2 separate regions of the Homo sapiens genome follow, and region 2 is linked to region 1. Evidence: promoter capture Hi-C in human tissues and cell types (Jung and others, 2019). All regions are on one chromosome and are shown on one strand. The core of a region is centred on a gene start or on the middle of the fragment in contact, and the rest is flanking DNA. Distances in the headings are between cores, read along the strand shown. Region 1 holds the start of GALNT1 (polypeptide N-acetylgalactosaminyltransferase 1). Region 2 overlaps GALNT1 (polypeptide N-acetylgalactosaminyltransferase 1).

What was found. The method cuts DNA at HindIII sites, captures the fragments that hold promoters and counts their contacts. A contact is called where the count stands out against the background at its distance.
Region 2: a contact is called between a fragment that was not itself captured here and the fragment with the promoter of GALNT1 in region 1, in 3 of the 25 tissues and cell types used here (IMR-90 fibroblasts, hippocampus and lymphoblastoid cells).

Annotation. Positions count from the first base shown.
Region 1 is chr18:35,580,214-35,584,564 of GRCh38, reverse strand. It overlaps GALNT1 (polypeptide N-acetylgalactosaminyltransferase 1), which reads right to left and starts at 2,825. Exons shown (of 12, transcript NM_020474.4): 1 at 2,703-2,825. RefSeq lists a silencer at 3,084-3,783. The HindIII fragment of the contact is 13,517 bases long and covers 1-4,351 here.
Region 2 is chr18:35,659,875-35,664,092 of GRCh38, reverse strand. It overlaps GALNT1 (polypeptide N-acetylgalactosaminyltransferase 1), which reads right to left. Exons shown (of 12, transcript NM_020474.4): 3 at 291-465. Among named protein-coding and RNA genes, the nearest start is that of MIR3975, 70 kb to the right of the region's middle. The HindIII fragment of the contact is 3,602 bases long and covers 1,048-4,218 here.

The sequences.
Region 1 (4,351 bases), core at 1,576-4,075:
TGAACAAACAGTAAGTAGTCACTCCTAACTCTCTTCTACGAAGTTGCCGCACTCCTCTTCCTCCATTATCTGTCACTCCCTTTGCCTTGGTCCCTCTTTGCCTAACTGCCTCTTTTAACTGATCTCTCCTCTTTCCTTCCTCCTCTACCTCAGCCCAGCTCTTAACCCATCAAAAAATAAAACTTGGTATATAACTGCAATGGTATAACACTCTTCTGCATCTCAACCAATTAGGAACTGTATCCAAGAAATCTGTTACTGAAAAAAAAGTACCAAAGTTGTATGTTACATAAGCATGACAGATGTATTACATAAATAAATAAGTAAAAGCAGAAACAGCGTCAACCTGATTGTGACCTTTCATGAGAATGAGTATGGAAAGCTGTCCATCAAAGAAAGCCAGGACAGTATTCCTCAAAACTACCAAAGTTATGGAAAACCAGACAAGACAGAAACTATCACAAACCAAATATTAAAGAAACATGATGTCAAAATACAATGTAGTACACTGGACTGGATTCTGGAACAGAAAGAAGATATTAACGGAAAAACTGGTGAAATCCAAATAATGTCTGGAATTTAGCTACCTAAAAAAATACAAAATTTTTTAAAAACTATATGAAGCACTAATGTGTGATTCAGATTCAAAATTATTATTATATTAGTTAAAAGAGGGATAGGGCATGCAAGTGAGCCAGGAGCAAAACTCCAGTCAGAGTAGCTGGAGCGTCCCACTGAAAGTTACAAACAGATCTATCTTCATTTTGACTCTGGTCCCATGCTCTCTCACCTGATGTCATGAGAATTACCTTGCCTGTAACTGCTTGGGATTAACAATCAGTTTTGTTGTTGTTGGGTTTTCAGTTTTTTGAGACAGGGTCTCGCGCTGTCACTCTGGAATAGCTAGGACTACAGACGCATGCCACCACACCCAGCTAACAACCACGCTTAAGTATCCTAGCACACTCATTCGTTTATCCAACAAGCATTTATACCAAGTGCTTATTGCTTACCAGGCACTGTAAAGTCTTCAGTGATACATGGCTGGAAAAGGAAGCCACAATCTCTGCTCTCATAAAGCTTAAACTCTATTGAGAAAGCCAGGCATTTAACAAGTATTTGCATAAATGGTGAGTGCTCCCAAGAGTTTTGCAGTCTGCTGCTTAAGAGGCACCAAACAAACCAGCAGAGCAGTCATTAAACGCAGTTATCACCAGCACGCTGAACAAAGGCTTCTCAGGTTTCAAAGTGCACACAAATAACTTGAAATCCTGGTAAAGCAGATACTGATTCAGTTGATGTGCAGCGGGGCTTCACATTCTGCATTACTTGAGTCTGAGGTGACAGGGATGCTGCTGGTACACCATCCACACTTGGAATAGCAGGACTCGGAGTACCATGGAAACATCCTCAAAGGATCATGTAAAATGTCAATTCCAATAGGGCAAGGACATTGTGTCTCCCTTATTCACCATGTACCCAGAACTTAAAACTGTGCCTCATAGACAGATCGCATTCAGTAAATATTTACTGACACAACAAATGTATGTATAATTTAGACCAGGGCTGTTCAACTGTAGCAAAGAACCACATTTAGCTATGGAACACTTGAAATGTGGCTACTGTGACCGAGGAGCTGAATTTTTAAAATTTAATTTTAATAGTCACATGTGGTTAGTGGCTCCCACGCTGGACAGTCCAGGTCTGGACACAGATGTGATGTAAAGAGGACTGGACTAACAAGGTCTAGGTTTGAATCCCAACTCTGCTGCTCAGATTGTGACCTGAAAAGTTGCAACTTCTTAGGGCCTTCACTATTTCATCTGTGAAATGACAAGACCTCCTAACTCTCAGCGTTCTTGACACGATTATAAAGCAATGTATTAAACATAAGATATGATCAAAGTGACATTCTCTGCCCTCCAGAAACAGTTCAGAAAGACTACTTTGCCTATTGCCCACTTGACCAAAAAAATGCCAAGTGAGTTTGGTAGACGGGTTGGTTAGCTCAGTGGCTTTGAGAATGAGGACAAGGTCACAAATCTGGGGAGTAAGGGAACCTCATCTAGCAAGGCTGACCAGATAAGAGAAGCAATGACAATGCAAATCATCCCAATTCCTGGTAAATGCTTAAATGGGCAACGTATTGATTATGGATGAGTAAATGACATCTCATTCATTCATTCTTCCAGGAAAAGCGGAAAAGCTACTACATTACCTAAAGCCCGCTACTTCCCAACCACAAACATTTGCTAATTTAGGTCCGGGTCCTCCTCGGGGGCAGCGGGCCGGGAAGCCCCCTCCCCCGCTGCCGGCGTGTCTTCCCCTCCCCCGTGGCGCCGCGAGGGTCAGGCTGGCACCGCGGTTGCAAGTACCACACGGCCGAACCCAGAAGCCATATTTAGCTTTATTTTTGTCAATAAAACAAACTTCCGTCTTCTAAAGAAAAACGGTTCTAACTCAATGTCAAACTAGGACGGAAACTCGCTGCTCGCCAAAGCTGCCAACCAGAGACGCCGCGTGTCCAACGGCACCGGGGTCCCAGACCCGAACCCGCGCCGAGCGTGCCCGCGCCCCGGCCCCAGGCAGCGCCGGCCACAAAGGGACCGGGGACGCGGCCGCGGCGGGGCCTCTTTCTCCACCTCCGACCCGCGCGCAGCGCTGCGGCTCCGGGACTGCCCAGCCGCGGGCGATACACTCACCTCGCTAGGCGCGCGGCGGCGGCGGCGGCAGGCGTCCTCCGGGCCGGCCGCGGCGGTCGCGGCCGGTCCCGCGGCCAGCGCGCTACTCTCGGGCCGCCGTCCGCCGCGCGCTCCTCGGCCACTGCCGGCGGCTCCCCCGGCGGGCGGGCGGGTCCGGCCGGGCCCCGCTCCGCCGCGCCCGCCCCCGCCTCCGCGCCCGGCTCGGGTCGGCGGCTACTCCGGGCGCCCCGCTCGCGGGCTCGGGCGGCGCTACTCCGGGCCGCCCCGCATGCGCGCCGCCTGCCCGCTCACTTGGGGCTCGTCGCGCGGCGGGCGCCGCAGGGCGCCCGCAGGCGCTCGGGCGCGGTCCTCCCTGCGCTGCGTGCTCGGCGGCAGCGGCGGCGGCGGCCCGTGCGGCTGCGCGGGGGAGGCGGGGGCGCCGGCGCTCACCCGGATGCGCGCCCCCTCCGCTGCGGCGAGCCCACCGCGGGGCCGCGACGCTCCCCTCGGGCTCGGGACTCCGGGGTCGGGCGCGGCGCCCCTCCCGGACCGACCGCCCAGTCCCGGCCCCCGCTCACACGGCTACGGGCAGGGCCGGGCCAGGCCGAGAGGTGCCCCCGACCCTGGGTCGGGACAAAGAGGCTGCCGCAGCAAGTTAAAGACAACTCGGGCTGTTGCGCGTCGAGCAGGTCACGGGGTGGGAGGAGATGGAGGAGCCCTCACAGCGGATCGGCTCCCGGGCCGAGCGCGGGGCCGCCCCAACCCGGTCGGCTGCCTGAGGCGGCCGCGAGCGCGGGAGCTGGAGCGCTGTCAGCCGCGCTGAGCCTGCGCCTGGCGACCGCGATGCAGGAGGCCCGGGACTGAGGGAGGACGGCGAGAGCGGAGGCCCGCGACCCGCACCGCCGGGGCAGGCACCCGGGTCTCGGGGGCAGCAACGCCGGGGCCCTTGCAGAACGGGGACTGTTTGGGGAAGTGGCTCCCGCACAGTGCCCGGAGAGGGGCCCTCCCTCTGTGCCCCCTTGGGAAACACTGCTTGGTACAATTCCAATACCCAGCTGTACCCTGCCCTGAAGATAGAAGACAAAACCCTGGCTCTGTCACTCACGCGAGGCATAACCAACCATTCTTTTAATAAATTAATTTTCTACTTAAATAATTCAGAGGTTTGTGTCTTATTGCTTGCCAACCAAGAGCTGCAATAAGAGATTACTTAATATTTAAGTGGTCCCACTTTTAAATTTATATTACCTCTCACATAACCAAAAGGCTGTCCGAAAAAAAAAAAAAAAAACCTGAAGATTATCTCTGGAATTTTAGTATCCTGTTTTTGCTTGTCTACATCTTCCAAGTATTCTAAAATAAAAGTTAAAAGTTACTATTTTAAAAGTACTTATATAATATTTTGAAACAAAGTCAATCATGACTAGCCTGTTACTGTTCCACAAGGAAACTTCACTTTGGAATAAAGTTGTCATCGTTAAAAAATACTCTTATCTTGGGAGAAAAGATTGGCAAATCATATATCTGTTAAAGGACTTGTAGCCAGAATGTATGAAGAACTCTTACAACTCAGTAATAAGACTAATAGTCCAATTTTAAATGGGCAAAACAATTGAATAGACGTTTTACCAAAGATATTTAAATGATCAACAATTACATAAAAAGGTGTT
Region 2 (4,218 bases), core at 1,599-4,098, 80 kb before region 1:
TTGTAAAAAGTTGAGTATGTGAGTATTTTGGTAATAATAAAGTTTAAAATCCCCTTCTAATCCATTAAGATAAATAATTATCTTCCAATGCCTGAAATACATAGTGCTAATAATCAGTAGAAGCTTGAGATATTATTTCTATCAGCATTTAATTATTTTCTAAGTGGGGTAAGTAGTAACATAGTGATATAACATTTGCCTTAAGAACAATCAGCACTCAAGTGCAATTTACTGAAAATTCAGAATATACTTTTCATTCACATACTATCAGGACCACAGTAAGTACTTACCCTTCTAACCTAACATCTGGTAAAGATCTGTTGAGTGCAATCATCTCACTTGCCATTAAATTGAACTGATTGATTTTAAACATCTCTTTCATCTTTTCTTGATCCTCTTTAGGAATGACGACTGGTTTCCCCATTTCTCCAGGACCTTCATGAGGCTTTTGTACTGGCTCTAGAACTAAGAATAGGAAGAAACTTAACTAACATTAATTTCATAGCAATTGATTGATTCATGATTCTATTTAATAACATTTGTGTTTGAACTGTGCCCTCAACAACCAGAACCCTTTCTGAGCCCACCCTCTCCTAGGCTGTTAACCCTTTCAAGGGGCTGTCTTGTCCTCTACCTCCACACCAGTGTCCTGACTCAAGACTTCGTCACCTTGCCCCACTCACCTGAGTCACTGCATGGTGTTGGCTCCCAACTCAAAAACTACTGCCACACTGATCTCCTTAAAGTGCAGCCTTCATTGTTATTCTTATGGCCTCCTAGAGTCCAACCTCTGTAATGGGGAATTGAACCTAATTTTCCAAAACTATCACCTGCTAGACCTTTTCCTCCCATCCCACAGTACTTCATCTTGCAGTCAAACAGCCACCCACTGCCTTCCTTCCAACGTGCCTCACATTCTCCTGCTTCCATGCCTTTGCTCACATCCCCTCACGGCTTCCATCGCTGCAACACCAAATCCCTATTTGCCTTCCCATGCCCAACTAAAATGGCTTCTCTTCCCTGTAGCTTTTCTGAATCTCTCTATAGTGGTTATTTACTAGTCTTGACTATCACATTATTTCATTCAGGGTTCTTATGTCTCTAACCAATTGCTATCTCTCATTATAATGATTGTCAAACCTGTCTTATGTACCCCTCCCATTAGAACAAGAATTCTCATCAAAAGTAATGTTATCTCTTGATACAGACATAAAAAGAGCAATGTGCCTGATCAGCACTTCCCAAACTTTCTTCCTTATGTTTTTGAGACGTTAATAAATGTCCAAGAAAAACAGGTTCTGGGATATATTAAATTTGGAAGGTGCTATGTTAAACTTCTCATCTATAAGGGATGGCTAAAGAATGAGGTGAGGTCAAAAATGGGATGAAAATATATTTTATGCATTACTTATTTTAAAATCTAAAGTTTTATTCTCTTGTAGATTGTTTTTTAGGCATCCTCAAAACATTTCTAAACAAAAAATAGTGGCATCAAGGCAGCAGAAAAGCCATCTCTCTTCAGTCAGGCTTCATCTGTACAAGAACAGGACGAGCTGGTAAAGCTGACTTTAGGGTGATTGTTTCAGCCAGTGGTACAAAGCCACCTACCAATACCAGAGCTGCAGGATATGAAACTATTCACTGTGTCCTCAACCACGTCCAGAATTTAAAAATAGATTTCAGAAAATGATGATGAAAAAAGTGTGCATTAGTTTTCCCCTGTTCTCAGGATAAATTGGGATTTTATGTGGAACATTAAAATAGTAGAAAATTACTTTAAAAATTATAGGAAACTCAAGTAACATAGTTTTTAAAAACAAGTCCTGCCTAATGTTTGCCCAGTAAGTAAGCTCCTTAAATATGAGAGTTGGTAGAGTTTTTAAAAATTCTCAATGACAAAAATCATCAACAAGTGTAGTAAAAACTATAAGTACAGAAGTGTAATACTCCATATAAAATCAGCCTTTAAAGCTTTAAAAATCAAATACTGTTAAACTCGTATAGTCATTTCTACTTGCCAGTCTCTGAAAGTAAAGAACAACCAACAGATTTTGAGATTGGTACATCAGTGGTCAAAAGGAACCGGCAGAGTTCTGAAGGTGACAAAAATCTTTTGTGGATGGCACAGATAACATAAAGAGTAGGTGGGAGACATCTAGTGGCCCTGATTATAAATATCCTTCTGTTACCCATGCTCTATTTTAGTATAAAATGCTTTATAGAAAAATCAAAATAGAAACGTTTTCATGCTGCTCAGTTTTTAAATGAAGAGTATTAACATATACATATACCATCTGTGTTTTTACTAGGGGGAAAAAGATCCTCAACCTGATCAAGCCTCTAGACCTAATTTACAGGAAATATACGGGACAAAGGGACATGGCATGCACCATTAAAGGGATGCAAATCCAGACTGCAGGAAACTGGAAAAGAGAAATACCTCAATTTCTTCTTCAACAACAAACAAAACAGGTCTGAGGGAGACAAAGAGAAAGAGGTATCCATGCCACAAAACTAGCCATGAGTTGACAACTCTTGAAGCCAGATGATGGATACATGAGAGTTTAATTTTTTTTTTTTGATTTTTTTTTTTAAGACAGAGTCTCGCTCTGTCACCCAAACTAGAGTGCAGTGGTGCAATCTTGGCTCACTGCAACCTTTGTCTCCCAGATTCAAGCGAATTGTCCTGTCTCAGCCTCTCCAGTAGCTGGTATTACAGACACGCGCCACCATATCTGGCTAATTTTTGTATTTTCAGTAGAAATGGGGTTTCACCATGTTGGCCAGGCTGGTCTTGAACTTCTGACCTCAGGTGATCTGCCCACCTTGGCCTCCCAAAGTGCTGGGATTACAGGTGTGAGCCACCGCTCCCAGCCATGATTTTCTATTCTCTCTACTTTTGTTTCTGTTTGAGAATTTCCATGGTGGAGGGGGGCATTAAGGAGGACTGGAGAAATTATTACTATAAATACTACAAAATATAAACTTAATTGCTTATTACACATGAAATTATATAACCAGAAGCTTAAAGTTGGTTTTGAGATCTTAAAGAATCAGGCAAAAATGTACAGCATATACAATCCTGCTGATGCACTATTTTGCACATTTCATCACCTGATATTTATTAATCTGAAAATCTAACATAGTGCCTGCATTATGTACTCTAACCTACTGTTACATATGAAATTTCAGAGCCACATTTAAAATTATCATTAATCAAAAGTTACATGTCTACTGAATGATTTAGAGAATGCACCACAATACTCTAATTATTAATAAGAAAATACAATATCCTACAGAATTAAATGGACTATTAAACTAATTTTCTTGGCAAACGAGTTTGGATGAAATGCATGTGGTTAGTGAATATATGTTACTATTAATGCATTTATAGCATTAGAAAGCAACTAAAAAGATGGTAAGTATAAACTTTCCATGTTCTCTACTGCCAGTCTTCTATGTGTATTAAAAGTAGGTTCTGTGAAAATTTTATTAGAAAGAAACTGAAATGAGTTTGGATGTCATTTCATGAACTAAAGAAAATATCTTTGCATAAAATTCTACATGCAGCTCATTTCTAAGAATCAAATCACTTTGACAAGGGAGGGACAAAGGTGTTATTCCAAAGTATTATGTGAGAACAAACATATTTTATTATATACTTCAGTTAAGTTTCATTTACATGACACTGTAGATAAGTATCATGTTTTAGAAAAGGTAATTACCAAGAAAACTACAGGTTCACTCTGAAAGCCCCCAAATAAGATTAACATACACAAACCACTGGCATGCCTTTGAATACACTTTAAGGATATTTTTCAAATTTCTTATGTGTGTTTCTCTCAGGAAAGTAGACTAAAGTTATATGACTTCTTTTTGGGGTAAATATACTAATAAAAGGCTAAAATCATTTCTCCCAAACTATTTTCTGATCTTACTACACAATTAACATTTTTACTGTCCTTATGCACTATATTCACTATTTCAAAATGTTTCCTACTATATTTTAACATTTCTGAAATTGGAATGTGGCTCACAATGGTAACTGGAATGTTATCACTTTTACGGTGGTATACAGAATATTCTATAAACAAAGGTATGTAAGATGCAATAAAATGCAGTACACTATCTGATTTTTTAAACATCAAAATATCATCTATACCTTAACTCACTGGTAACTTTCTGCTACTTCAACATCCTTGTCAATTTCCAATTTCA